Regions from separate parts of the Homo sapiens genome. Here regions 2, 3, 4 and 5 are each linked to region 1. Evidence: promoter capture Hi-C in 16 types of primary human blood cells and fetal thymus (Javierre and others, 2016). All regions are on one chromosome and are shown on one strand. The core of a region is centred on a gene start or on the middle of the fragment in contact, and the rest is flanking DNA. Distances in the headings are between cores, read along the strand shown. Region 1 holds the start of NGRN (neugrin, neurite outgrowth associated). Region 2 overlaps CRTC3-AS1 (CRTC3 antisense RNA 1). Region 3 overlaps CRTC3 (CREB regulated transcription coactivator 3). Region 4 has its middle 4.0 kb from the start of MESP2. Region 5 overlaps CRTC3 (CREB regulated transcription coactivator 3).

Evidence for each region. Contacts are between HindIII fragments. The CHiCAGO score rates a contact against its expected background, and 5 or more counts as called.
Region 2: a fragment that was not itself captured here is called in contact with the fragment with the promoter of NGRN in region 1 in 1 of 17 cell types (monocytes); the score reaches 5.2 in monocytes.
Region 3: a fragment that was not itself captured here is called in contact with the fragment with the promoter of NGRN in region 1 in 1 of 17 cell types (monocytes); the score reaches 5.6 in monocytes.
Region 4: a contact is called between a fragment that was not itself captured here and the fragment with the promoter of NGRN in region 1, in 1 of 17 cell types (neutrophils). The highest score is 5.6, in neutrophils.
Region 5: a contact is called between a fragment that was not itself captured here and the fragment with the promoter of NGRN in region 1, in 5 of 17 cell types (naive B cells, erythroblasts, total CD8 T cells and 2 more). The highest score is 7.1, in naive B cells.

What each region holds. Positions count from the first base shown.
Region 1 is chr15:90,264,247-90,266,967 of GRCh38, forward strand. It overlaps NGRN (neugrin, neurite outgrowth associated), which reads left to right and starts at 1,426. Exons shown (of 3, transcript NM_001033088.3): 1 at 1,426-1,630; 2 at 2,042-2,152. The coding sequence starts at 1,467. TTLL13 (tubulin tyrosine ligase like 13) reads left to right here. Exons shown (of 15, transcript NM_001396017.1): 15 at 474-1,231. The coding sequence ends at 721. It also overlaps a transcript of CIB1 not described here. RefSeq lists enhancers at 438-1,409, 897-1,026, 1,387-1,616, 1,410-2,380. The HindIII fragment of the contact is 8,147 bases long and covers 1-2,658 here.
Region 2 is chr15:90,679,280-90,682,088 of GRCh38, forward strand. All of the region lies in intron 2 of CRTC3-AS1 (CRTC3 antisense RNA 1), which reads right to left. Among named protein-coding and RNA genes, the nearest start is that of LINC01585, 20 kb to the left of the region's middle. The HindIII fragment of the contact is 4,674 bases long and covers 1-2,809 here.
Region 3 is chr15:90,609,982-90,612,681 of GRCh38, forward strand. The region is part of intron 6 of CRTC3 (CREB regulated transcription coactivator 3); the gene reads left to right. Among named protein-coding and RNA genes, the nearest start is that of LINC01585, 49 kb to the right of the region's middle. The HindIII fragment of the contact is 852 bases long and covers 1,022-1,873 here.
Region 4 is chr15:89,778,980-89,781,754 of GRCh38, forward strand. No RefSeq gene overlaps it. Among named protein-coding and RNA genes, the nearest start is that of MESP2, 4.0 kb to the left of the region's middle. The HindIII fragment of the contact is 2,570 bases long and covers 7-2,576 here.
Region 5 is chr15:90,560,161-90,562,970 of GRCh38, forward strand. All of the region lies in intron 2 of CRTC3 (CREB regulated transcription coactivator 3), which reads left to right. Among named protein-coding and RNA genes, the nearest start is that of CRTC3, 32 kb to the left of the region's middle. RefSeq lists an enhancer at 2,721-2,810. The HindIII fragment of the contact is 514 bases long and covers 1,195-1,708 here.

The DNA.
Region 1 (2,721 bases), core at 176-2,675:
AATGGCTTGATCTCACTTCACTGCAAACTCCACTCACGGGCTCAAGTAATTCTCCTGACTCAGCCTCCTGAGTAGCTGGGACTATAGGCACACACCACCATGCTCGGCTAACTTTTGTATATTTTGTTTTTGCCACGTAGCCCAGGCTGGTCTTGAACTCCTGATCCACCTGAATCAGTCTCCCAAAGTGCTAGGATTACAGGTGTAAGCCACCGCACCAGGCCTATTTAATCCTTTCTGTACACTAGACCCTGGTGATAGAAATGGCAGAAATACAGTCCCAGCACTCAAGAGGTAATAGGAACATGGACAAAAAGACATACCATACCAATTACAATACAGTGTGGGAAAGACAGTGGAGGGAAGCATGAGATGCCCTTCCTCTGTGTTGGTAATTGGGCCACAGTTGGGAAAGAGGTGAACAAATCTCTTCTGTGAATACCAACTCAGGGACATCCATGTTTCCACTGCAGAAGGACAAGCCAGCAGAAGGCTAGAAGCCATAAACCGAGTCCTGGCAGGATCAGTGCCACCCACTTTAACCCCAAAGCAGGGCTATTTTCTGCAACCGGAAAGAGTGGCATCTGACTCATGGACTGAATGCACCTTGCCCTCCATGGTAAACTCTGAACACAGAGCAGCCAAGGTTCCCCTCTGCCCTGCGTCTGCACCCATGCTGCAGCGTTCCAGAGCACTCCTCAACATCAATCAGTTCAGGTAAAAGCAGGAGGGAAGCACTCTACCTCTCCTGGATAACCTCCCCAGGTTTCCAAAGGGCATTAAATCTTTGCTAAATGAATGACTGCCACCAAGTTCCACTTTGAAAAGCCCTGCCCAGGAACCCCATTTGTATAAGGCAAAATACAAAGACACCAAGAATTCCTCAATACCCTAAGATTAATTGGGGATCGGTAAAGACTAGAAGATGAAGAGGCGCCAAGGCCAGCCATGTACTCATTTCTGCTCATCAAGCCTTAGCCTGGGTTTATCGCTAGGTGATGGGTCTGAACCCTAGGTGCGGCCCGGGGCTGGAGGCCATCCAGGAGACAATGAGCCCCTTTCCCAGAGAAGCCGAGTGCCCAAGGCACTGGGCTGTCGCCGTCAGAAGACTGCCGAGCGGAAGCCCTGCCCACCGAGGTGGCGGAGACAGGCAGGCCTGGGCAGCCGCTGGGGCGGAGGGACGGCTCTTGGAAACGGAATCCGTACTTTAATTAAAGTTTATGCAGTTTTCCAGGAGCGTCCTGTACCTCATTTCGGCCCTCACGTTTCAGGGAAGCCCTCTCCACAGTTACAGGCAGAAAGGGTGGGCCACTGAGCAGCGTGAGCCCAGATCTTACCCCCACCAAGTGAAGCGGGAAATAACTTGCTACTACCCAGCCTCCGGCCCGCCCCTTCCACTTCCGGTCTTACCCGGCTACTTCCGCTGCTGTTTCGTAGCCGACTGCTGAAGGCTGGTTTGCGTCGACATGGCGGTTACCCTGAGTCTCTTGCTGGGCGGGCGCGTTTGCGCCGCCGTCACTCGCTGTGGGTTCGCGACCCGGGGGGTGGCGGGCCCAGGCCCTATTGGCCGGGAGCCGGACCCCGATTCCGACTGGGAGCCGGAGGAACGGGAGCTGCAGGAGGTGGAGAGGTACCGGCTTCTCCCCGGGCCCTCAGCTTGAAGCAGGGCCTCGTGCCCCGGCGCTCCAGGCCGCGCCCCCTTGGCGCCGGGTGTCCTGCCGCTGCTTGCGCAGCGGCCCTTGTTTCTTCTTACCCGTTGTTAGGGGCGCAGCGTCAGGTGTTCAGCTCCCCTGGGACCACTGGTCCCTTCATTAGTGACGTATTTCATCATCAGTTTAGAGAGTTCGGCATGCTTACAGGCAGTTATTGTTCTAGGTGTTAGCTTTCTGGGTGTACGGAGCAGCTCTAAGCCGGCAACATGGCCCGGTTGCCCTTGCGATCAAAGAGAAGAGGGCTGGGCGCTCCATGATTTAGCCTGAGGCTCTTCAAACATCCATTCTGCTTCCACGCATGGCTTCTGCCATTGGTTCTCTTCCCCCAGCACCCTGAAACGACAGAAACAAGCAATCCGATTCCAGAAAATTCGGAGGCAAATGGAGGCGCCTGGTGCCCCGCCCAGGACCCTGACGTGGGAAGCCATGGAGCAGATACGGTGAGACTCAGGATACCTTGTTTGTATCCGCTGTGATGAGAAGTGAAGGATGCTGGAGCCCAGAAACGGGTTTGGCTTTTTTGATACTGCTTTTATATTTTCGTTTACTTTTTGTCGTTGAAATTTATTATCAGAAAAGTAGAGTAATATAACGAACTTCCCTAACCCTGTCATTATCTAGATTTAATAGTGTTTTGTTTTGTTTTTTAAAGAGACGGGGTTTCGCTATCGCCTCGAACTCCAGACCTCAAGTGATTCTCCCGCCTCGGCCTCTCAGAGTGCTGGGATTACAGGCATGAGCCACTGCGCCCCGCCTGGTTTTAATAGTTTTTAACGTTATGACGTGGTTGGTTCATTTTTACTGAAATTTTTAAATAGTAAATCGCAGACATCACAACATTTAACCCTTGAATGTAGGTTGTGACGTTCCCAACCTAAGGTACAGGGATGCTGGTGCTTCCATAGGTAGGTGCATTTTTCTGAAGACAGGATCTATAATTTAGGAAAGCTTAAAAGAGTTTTTAAGTTTTTTTGTTTTGAGTAGGTAAAGTATTACATATGGCTCAACC
Region 2 (2,809 bases), core at 113-2,612, 410 kb after region 1:
CATGATCTAGGCAAGATATATACTTTTTTTTTTTTTTTTTTTTTTTGAGACAGGATCTCACTGTCTCCTTGGCTGGAGTGCATGGCAGTCACGACTTACAACAGCCTTGAACTCCTGGGCTCAAGGGATCCACTAGCTTCAGTCACCTGAGCAGCTGGGACCACAGGCACATACCACCATACCTGACACTCTCTCTCTGTCTCTCTCTATATATATTTGTTGTTGTTTGTTTGTTTGTTTTCGTAAAGACAGGGTCTTTTGTTTTGAGACAGATCTCACTCTGTTGCCCAGGCTGGAGTGCAGTGGCACGATCTCGGCTCATTGCAACCTCCGCCTCTCAGGTTCAAGTGATTCTCCTGCCTCAGCCTCCTGAGTAGCTGGGACTACAGGCACGTGCCACCACGCCCAGCTAATTTTTGTATTTTTAGTAGAGACAGGGTTTCACCATACTGGCCAGGCTGGTCTTGAACTCCTGACCTTGTGATCCACCTGCCTCCGTCTCCCAAAGTGCTGGGATTACAGGCGTGAGCCACCGTACCCGGCCAAGACAGGGTCTTTTTTTATTTTTCATTTTCTCAGCCTGAATATGTTTGTAGACAAGGTCTTGCTATGTTGCCCAGGTTCTACTCTTTTTAAACACAAAAATTACATAATTTTTCAGACAATCTGTTTTGCCATATTGAGAGGCCTTTGCATTAAGTCTGCTAATGCCCTGACAACCACCACATCACTTGGGATTTGGAGTCCCTTTGGGTTAGAGCAGGGTTTCTCAACTTCGGCACTATTGACATGTGGGCTGGATCATTTTGTTCTTTGGAGGCTGTTCTGACACTGCAGGTAGATGCCAGTAGCACCTCCCTAGTTGTGGCAACCAAAATGCCTCCAGACATTGCCCAATACCCCTGGGGGTGCCAAAATCATCCCCCGTTAAGAATCACTGGATGTCCTCTGGGATTCTACGGAAAACTTCCTGGAACAAACCAGAGAAAATCTGACTCCTGATGTCACATCCATGCCAGCTTCCTGCCTCTGTTTCCCCATTTGTCCAGTTGGGATCATGACTACAAGATAAAACAGCATATGGTGGGAAGCAATGGGACCTGCAAGGAGTCATCGTGGTACTCATGAGGAGCAGACATAAGGTCACAAGCAGCACTGCCCTGGAACTGCATGGCACTGTGCTGGCTTTGCCAAGGTGGTAGGGCATCCCACTGAACTGACTCAAGTCCCCAGGATTGCTCCAACTCTTGTATTCCCTCCAGGCCTCTTTTTAATGTTAGCGTTGTTTAAGATCTTTCATTTTACTGTCAAAAAGAGAAAGTCTCATTTAATTCATACCAGATGCTGAGTGAGTCGTCATGAATCAATACAACATTATCCAAAAACCACCAAAATGAATCATAAGGATAAACAGGATTTTTTTCTCCCTGCAAAACAGTGACTAAAATAGTGCCTTGCCCTTTTAGAAAAAAAAAAAAAAAAATCTGAGGTTAGGAGGAGGCCTAGGGCCCTGCTCATGTAATCCACGTGTCCGTGAGCATGGAATGGTTCAACTGCAGGTCCTAGGGAGACAGTGTATGAGGCCTGCAGCTAAGCCAGGCAGACACGGGCTGGAGAAGGTGTCCCAGAGTTAGGATTCAGGAATGGGGGTCCAGCAGCCCCCTGAAACTTATGCAATCCTCTGTTTCCATCCCAGTCTCAAAGCTGTCTGTGACTCAGAGAAGTTTTGTCACCCTCATTATGGATGAAGAGGCTCTTGGGAACTGTGGAGGGTCTTCTGGGAGGTGAGCATCCCAGAATTCTTCTGCTGCTGATAAAGCTAAGGCAGCCCATCAGCCTCATGAGCACTTATTTTCTCAGTCCTTCCTCTACTGTGATCCTGAGAATGCACTCTGAGTATGTAGGGGAGTCAGAAATGGTGTTTGTCCTCTCTGGGGCAGCAGGGAGGCTGGAGAGGGAAGGCTCTGGGCCCACCTAGGCACTCAGACTCTGACCCTTGAATGGAGGAAGCAAAAGCCAAGAAGAGGTTGGGGCTGACACATCTTTACAGTGTGGCCAGATGAGACTCTCAGTTGGTTCCAGCTTCTAGGTCCCCACGGCCTCCCTGTTTTCTGTCTTTTCCAGACCAGGCTCTTCAATTTCCCCTTCCATGTTGTGAGGGACTCCATAGCCTTCTTGTGAATTTCCCTTGGGGTCGGGGGTCAGTGTCTGTTTCTTGCCACCGCAGCACCAGGCTGGTTGTTTCTGTAAGAGGCTCTGAGAGCTGCGCCTCCCACATCCCTCACCTCCCAGACTTGTGCAGGAGTAGTCAGGAACATGCGGAGCTGGAACCACACTCGATGGCACCCACGAGGTCAAGTCAGAAGGGCTCCCTTCTGGTAAGGCAGAATCAGAGCCAAGGAGGCTGAGCGTTCCCTGCAATCACTGCCATCACTGATGAAGGAACTGACTCATCTGATGTGGGCCATTGAGGAATGTGGAGGTTGGACGAGTGACCACTAGGACCTTCAGCAATAGAGAAAATGGAACTGGCTGGGCACGGCGGCTCATACTTGTAATCCCAGAACTTTGGGAGGCTGAGGTGGGAGGATCACCTGAGGTCAGGAGTTCAAGACCAGCCTGGCCAACATGGTGAAACCTTGTCTCTACTAAAAATACAAAAATTGGCTGAGTGTGATGGCACGTGCCTGTAATCCCAGCTACTCCAGAGGCTGAACCAGGAGAATTGCTTGAACCTGGGAGACAGAGGTTGCAGTGAGCTGAGATTGCACCACTGCACTCCAGCCTGGGCAACAGAACAAGACTCCAT
Region 3 (2,700 bases), core at 198-2,697, 350 kb after region 1:
AGTTGCCTTGCAAGTATAGCAGAACTCAGAAACACATCCTAATATGGATGTGTTTACATGGGAAAGCCAGTGTTTAAAATATTATTCAAGTCTCCAAGGATGGAAATTATTTCTGGAGAATTATATTTGTTGGTGGGAGCTATTTTAAATAGTTTCATGTATTTTCCTCCTGTGTTTCATTAAAGTTTTTCATTTTCTTTCCTTTTGGATTTTAAAACTATCAACTGGCTTTGCAAAAAGGTATTTCTTATAGGACCAACCAAAGAAAGATTTAAACAGTGATGGGAAAATATAATTGAAGCCCAGAACTGGGTTCTATGTTCGAAGCAATAATAACTCTTCTTTCCCTGGGAATCTCTCCTAGGCAGAATGATGCAGCCACACTTTTTTGTTATTGTTGTTGCTGTTGCTGTGAGCCCATGAGGAGAGCATCTGCTCACGGCTTAACTACATGAGCAATAAACTATGATACATTCATGAGTGGAGATTTGTGTCACAAGAAGACAAAGCCTGATACATGTTGAGTAATTTTCATAATAGCTATTGAGTTCCATGACAATTAGGCATAAATGATAAGCAGTTGGTATAAATGACAGAAATAAATTTTTATGGAACCAAACAGGATTTTTATAATTTCTCTCTTTTTGTTTAATTATTCAGAATCTATAAAGAGGGAATGTTGGCCATTTCCCTGGCAGCATGTGCACCTTAATGACCATTTCACACTTACATGCAGATAGGGAAGCACAGGACTCTGTGGGACACGTGCCCTGTCCCATAGCCTAGGACTGTCTCCTAACACCCCTCCTGACATCGGGCATGTGGAGGAGGGACTGGGGTGGTCTCTTCCTTTCAGGGAACAGTCTAGAGCTAAGGGGAGCAGAGTGCGTAATAGGTGTCTTCTCTGCATCCAGGGCTGTAGATGCTGAATATTGCCATCTTTGGGGACCACAGTACTCAGCTCCTTAGCGTGGAGGGGGCTTGGCATGCCTTGGACCTGGTGACCTTTCACCTGCCAATAAGCTTTGACCTGCAGAGTTAAGGAGAAGGTTTACAATGCAAAGAACCTTGAAAGATGTAAGCCTGTTAATTGCATGGATTGGGCGGGGGTACAGTGGCAGGTACAAGCATCCCAGATCTGAAGAGGGGCAAAAAGAGTGTCACCCAGGGACAGGAGGGCCCAGAGTGGGGAGGCTGAAACACCAGAGGCCTCCTTTAGGACAATGGTTAAGGGGTCTTCCCCTTGCCTTCCCTTCTACTTAGCAAATCAAGGCTGTGTAGGGAGTTATTTTAGATTTGCCAGGCATGGGAGCACACAGAAGGAACATGGTCTCGGTTCCCTTAGTTAGAAGAGACCGGCCCTCGGTGGCTCTGAGGTTTCCTGGAACACAGTTGCAGCCTTGGTCATCGCTGTCCCATCCCTGTGGGACTGATAAAATTAGTGTCCTGTTTCCAGAGAGCCAGTCACAACTCATTCCTTTTTCTTTTTAACCCTTTATTTGTAGTGCTATCTTGTGGGTTTTTAATTTAGCAGTAAAAATCCAGGCTTGGATATTTTGATGATATGTTAGCTTGGTGCCAGTATATCAGTCATTGCCACCACCATCCTTCTGGTCACCGCAGCCCAGACCCTGAGAGTTGCATCTGATTACTCCCATTCCCATGCCCCTACGCCCATTCAGTAGCCGAGTCCTGTTCATTTTATCCCAGCAGTATGTCTCAAATCTGCCTCTGGTTTTCTGTCCTCACTGCCAGTATCCTACTTGGTTCCTGTTTGCCTTGGACTATTGCATTGGTTTTCTAGTCGGCCTCCCTGCCTTAAGGCTTTCTCCTTTCAATCCACCTCCTACTCTGCTGCAAGAGCAGTCTCTGAAGCTTAACTCTGATCATGTCACTTCTCCAACTGAAACCTTCCATCCCCTACATCCTGCCAAATGACCAGCAGCCTGCTTCGGTCCAGCCCATCTCCCAGTCCTCCCACCATGTGCTGCAGCCACACTCTTCCATCTTCCTTCTCCTTCTTATCCTTCCCCAACCACCCCCCACTCCTCCTCCTCCTCCTCCTCCTCCTCCTCCGCCTCCACCTCCTCCTCCTCCTCCGCCTCCTCCTCCGCCTCTGCCTCCTCCTCACACTGGGCATCCCCTTCAGCTTCGCTTCCGGTTGTCTAAATCTTCCAGGTACTACAGCAAATTGGTTAGGGACATGAACATTCTGAAGACACACGGGCCAGAGTTCTAGTCCCAGAACTTACTAGCAGTGTGATCTTGGGGATGATAATAGCATCTACGTCGCAGAGTTGCTGTGGGGATCCCATGAGATCACCTGTGTAAAGCGCCTGGCACATAGTAAGTGAGCAGTCAGGTTGGCTGTTGGTTATCCTCTTCTTCACCATTATCCTTCAATGAATGGCGCCTCAGGTGCCACCTACTCCATGAAGCCTTCCTTCTGTTCCAGTCTGAGGAGAGCATGCACTAATGGGGCTGTCACATGGGGTATCTGCCAGCCACTCAGGCAGTTTCACATGGTAGCCCTCAGTTGAGTCCTCATGTTTCAGGGACAGGTCAGGCTTAATAATTAAACCTCGAGTGACTGGTGTCTTGATGATGAAGAGATGCTTCAGCACGCCATACCAGATTGCTATATAAAACCTAGTTTTTAGTTTTTAACAGGATAGTCACTTTTTAGTAATCAGAATGAAG
Region 4 (2,775 bases), core at 42-2,541, 490 kb before region 1:
GGGCTAAGCTTGGGCCTGCCCACTTGCCTCAGCCACATCACCACTGCCCTTTTGTGTTCTTCGGGTGCATTCCTGGTGACTGCTGGGGTGGGTGCATGCAGCTGTGGACAGACAGACAGGAGCCCCAAATGGGGAGACCACAGTCCCAGAGACCTGTCATTTAGGGCTCTTTCACAATGACATGAAATTTTCTTCAAAGAATACTGGGAGTGGTTCCTACGTGCTAGGCCCAGTGTATTAGTTTGCGAGGGCTGCCATACTAGAATGCCACGGGCTGAGTGCAGTGGCTTACGCCTGTAATCCCAGCACTTTGAGAGGCTGAGGTGGGAGGATCCCTTGAGGCCAGGAATTCGAGACCAGCCTGGGCAACATAGCAAGACCTTGTCCCTACAAAAAACTTAAAAAAACAACAACCACAGACTGGGTGGCTTAAACAACAGAAATTTATTTTCTCACAATTCTGGAGGCTAGAAGTCCAAGATCAAGGTGTAGGCAGGTTCAGTTTCTTCTGGGGCCTCTCTCTGTGGCTTGCAGATGACTGCCTGTTCGTTGAGCCCCTACATGGTCACACATCTGTCTCTATTGTCTGTGTCCTGATTTCTTATAAGGGCACTAGTCATGTTGGATCAGGACCTACCCTAAGGGACCCATTTAACTGTATTTACTCTTTTAGGGATCTTTCTTCTAATACAGTCACAGTTACATTCCGAAGTATTGGATGTTAGGGCTTAAACATAAGAAACTTCTTTTTTTTTTTTTTTTTTGAGACAGAGTCTTGCTCTGTCGTCCAGGCTGGAGTGCAATGGTGCAATCTCGGCTCACTGCAACCTCTGCCTCCCGGGTTCAAGCGATTCTCCTGCCTCAGCCTCCTGAGTAGCTGGGATTACAGATGCCTGCCACCATGCCCGGCTAATTTTTGTATTTTCAGTAGAGACAGGGTTTCACCATGTTGGCCAGGCTGGTCTCGAACTCCTGACCTCAAGTGATCCACCTGCCTCGGCCTCCCAAAGTGCTGGGATTACAGGTGTGAGCCACCACACCCAGCCAAACATAGGAAATTTTTTTTTTCTTTTTTTTTGAGAGGGAGTCTCACTCTGTCGCCCAGGCTGGAGTGCAGTGGCATGATCTCAGCTCACTGCAACCTCTGCCTCCCAGGCTCAAGTGATTCTCCTGCCTCAGTTTCCCTAGTAGCTGGCCTAGGTGCCTGCCACCATGGCTGGCTACTTTTTGTACTTTTAGTAGAGACAGGGTTTCACCATGTTGGCCAGGCTGGTCTTGAACCCCTAACCTCCAATGGTCCACCCGCCAAGGCGTCCCAAAGTGCTGGGATTACAGGCGTGAGCCACCACGCCCAGCCAGACATAGGAATTTTATGGGAACACAGTTCAGCCGCCTCAGCCTCCCAAAGTGCTGCTATTACAGGCATGAGCCACTGCGCTCAGCCATACAGGAATTTTATGGGGACATAATTCAGCCCATAACACCATGTGTTAGGTGCCAGAGAGAAAATATTCCCCAACTAATGTGAATTACAGGGAAATAAATGATCAGAGCCCAGGTCCTAAACACAAGGATGGGGGTTTGTGTGAGGTGCTTAGGGACCAGGATGCGGTAACCTGGTGGGAGGCGAGGTTGGCAGTACCATCTCATTCTTGAGTTACCTGATTCCTTAGTCCTGCTGCCTTGATTGCGGTGTCTTAAGAGTAAGAGGCACTGCCAGGATCTTGGGAAAAGGATGCCAAGATCTATTAGCAAAGGCTCCCGTGGGCATGGGAGCCAGCAGTGGTGGTAACTTCCTTCTGTATCTGCTGACTCAGGGAGGAGAGAGTGCAGAAGAGGTGACCTTGGAGCTGGGTGTTGAAGGATATGCAGGAGTTTATCAAGAGGAGTGAGGGAAGAGAGGTCCAGGCAGGAGCAACAGCATGAGCCAAGTCGAAACAGAAGCGTCTAGTGTCTAGAGATGACAGAGAAAAGTGGCAAACAGAGCCGGAAAGGGGCTTGGAGGCAAGTTTGTGGGGAGTTCCACGTGGTGGGTGATGAGGTTTTGGCCTCCGTTTCCCGAATGATGGGCAGCACTGAGGGTTGGGAGTTGGGGGTGAGCTGGTAAGAAGTCTGCTCTCAGTCCCTTCGGCCGCTTCATAGAAATGGAACCAGGCAGGAGGCCACTGCAACAGTCCAGCTTGAGAGAAAGGGAGAGGCAGCACAGAGCATGAGCTGCCTGATTTCCTGGGCTTGAGCTCTTGGCGTGTGGGGCTTTCCCCTCTCATCCTGCAAGGTTGCCCGTTGCCTCTGACACGCCCTGTGGCATCAGGCAAGTCACTCTTTCTGAGCTTCAGTTTTCACAGTTCCTAAAGGAGGAACTATCTTGGGTGGTGCTGAGGTACCTTCTTCCTCTAACCTTCCAGAAGTGCTCTGGTTCTGCCCTTAGGGCCCTGCTGTCCCGAGGGGCTGTCAGCCACAGCTGGAAGGATGAGAAAAATCCAGGCAAGGTTAGAGTAGACACACAGCATTGGGGCCCAGGTTGCGCATTCTACTCGGCTCTTACTTGCTGTGTAACCAAGTGAGACTGACAGATAAGCTTTGGAACCTCCCTGAGCCTCAGTTTCTTCAACTGTGAAGTGGAGACAATAATAGACCTACCTCTCAGGGTTTTAATACTTGGCACATAGTAAGTGCTCAATAAAATGAGTACTGAGGCCAGGCATGGTGGCTCACGCCTGTAATCCCAGCACTTTGGGATGCCAAGGTGGGGTGATCACTTGAGGTCAGGAATTT
Region 5 (2,810 bases), core at 202-2,701, 300 kb after region 1:
TTGGTGGTTGATCAAATACTTGAGAATAGGGATTTATTCATTCAGCTAGTATTTGTTGAGGGCTGGAACTCTGTGGGATGTCCATTCAGTCAGGACACCTCTAAATCCTGACTTCCAGTTTACGTCACTGATGATGGCTCTCATCCTTGGTTCTACCAGATTCTTGAAAGAGAATGTGTTTTCTCAGAGCCAAGTAGACCCAAACATTTCCCAGACTTTGGCCACATAATCAGAAATTTCAAAAGAGTTCTGGAATTTGTGGGCTTAGCTCCAAGTTACCAGGCATCCGTTGTCTTCCCTGTGGGCAGAATTCGCTTTTAGCTTACTCCACCCTCCTCAGCTACGCAGCATGATTGGGGCAGACGATGAATACTTCAGATATCCCCTGTGGGGTTAACTCCAGAGGCAGCCTCAGAAACTAGACACATAATTCATATGGTCAAAACCTGGCAGGCTCTTCTGAAATCGTGTGACTTCCTATCAGGCCACCAGCTCTGCAGATCCTCAAAGGTCTGGCTGTCAGAACAATAGGGAATGAGAGCAGCGCCCAGATGCTGCCTGCTGGAGCTGCAGGTCCTGTTTGAGTCTGAACAATAAAAGTCCTGGAATGAATTACCAAGGCTCCTGATTGCACCCTGCAGGTTCAGGTTTAGTTTGTGGAGATGTCTCACATAAGAACTGTCTTGTAAGCCGCTTGGGGGGTTCAACAAAATTGGTCAACAAAATTTAATACCATACAAGCCCTTTTCTTGATCAAGCAATTTAGTAAGTCTCTGTCATAAGTCTCTATGACCTGCCATCCAATATGTCAAAATAAACAAAATTTTCATGTTGATGGTCACAAGTGCAGTCCCTAGAGTGGGGATCTGGTGACCACTTCCACCACTAACTAGCACTGGATCGTAGACAAGATCGTTAGTCTCTCTGTGTCTCAGCTCACTCATCTGCAAGATGTGGCTACTAATAGTACCTAAGATAGAGCTATTGGGAGGATTAAGTTAGGTAATGCATGTAAATCCTTAGAATAATGCCCAGCACAGTTGTTGTTCAATACATATTGCAAAGTTCCTAGTATAAACTCCCTGTTGCAGCCTTCTAATTTGACTTCAATAGATTGTTGGTACCATTTGCCTCTTTCTTTGCAGGTATCCTACCTAGGCCTAGAGAACTAAGCTTTTGCTGTTCATTATATGAAGCTTCTTAAATGTCATACAGGCTAGTTGCATCCTACTAATTCTTCACAGACTAGATAAAAATACTTTTGCTGAAGTCTTAATCGGCCTGTCCTGAAGTCAACCAGGCTGTATGTTAGTGCCTTGACTCAGTGCAGCTTTCAAGAGAGGCAGAAAGAATACCCACAGAGAAGGCACATGTGGGCGGTGGCAGTGTAGGACCAGGAAAGAAGCTAGGTCTCTATATTCCCTCGCATTTTGAATCTGTGTTAAATTCAATCATATTAGTATGAAGCAATCCTCTTACCTATCTCCTTAATCCAGCCTCTGACTGCCAGCTCACAAAAGAGGGAGAAGAGGCACTACATTTAAAGTAGTGATTATCTCTAACTAGAATTTTAAGTCCCTACATGTTTTGGCTGTAGAACCAGCCAAAGTTTTGTTCCAATTCCCTACAAAATTTCACAATAGTCAGGAGTTAGAATTGGTCCCTATGTTATGAAACAGCTAGTTTTTATACTTTAAACTTAAAATGAAGCTTTAGTTGTTTATTATTACTGTGGATATTTTCCAAGAGACAGAATAACATCTGTGGAAGATTCTACACAGGCCTTGATGCCAGACATTGTAATTATTTCCCTGCTCAAAGGCAATAGTCAGTGCCTCAAGGAACTCCCTGGCTATAAGCAGTTGGCTGCCTCGACAACAGATAGCTAATGTCTTAGCTCTTTTCTGTCTCTACCGCCAGCCTCTTGGGGATGTGACTTGAGAAAGCTCTCCCCTCCCCATTTTCTCCTGTAACCTCTTTGGAGGAAGTCACCAGGGTAACCACTTTCTTTTATGCTAGTTTTCTTGAGTGCAAGGGAAAACACTTCCCCACAGACATATGACAGAAGTTTAAGAGTGGTGAGGAGAAGAACACGAACAGTTACTGAGTACCTGAGCTATGCTTTGTGTACCTGATATCATTGAGTTCCCACATCAACCTTCTGAGATAGGCATTATCATCCCCATTTTACTGATGCTTAAACAGTAACATGCCCAAGGTCACACAAGTGGCAAGTGACAGTCAGGACTCAAACCCAGGTTTATCTTTCTCGGGCCTTTGCTCTTATTTTGCAAATTAAGCAAGTGTAGACACACAAAACCAATTTGTTTTTACCTAGGAAACGTGTTTTATGCTTTGTTTTTCTCAGTCTGGATAGATGCCGTTTTCTAGTCCCCTGGAACCATCGTATGCCCAGTTTAGTACCACTTTTGTTTGGTTTCTCGTCTTAGAATATATTCTGCTTATTCACTCCCCCGGCCACCTGAGAAATCTTTTTACTACTTTTAGTCCAAATCAAACTTTCCTTCCCTTGACTACCTAGGAAGTCTCTCCTTGGGTGAGTCTTAACTCGCCTGAACTGAGAGTCTCACCCTGGAACTTGGTTAAGAAAGGCCAGAGTTGGGAGGCAACAGCCTGGATGGAAGAGGGGGGTCAGTTGACACTGGAGGGGGCAAGCCAGACCAGCCGCAAGCAGGAGCCAAAAGGTCAGAAAGCCAGTGAGAATGGGGTGGGCCAACAGGAGCAGACCAGGCCACACAGGCTGTGACTCCCCCTTGCAGTGGCTGCTGGGCACTGGCCATGCCTGTGCT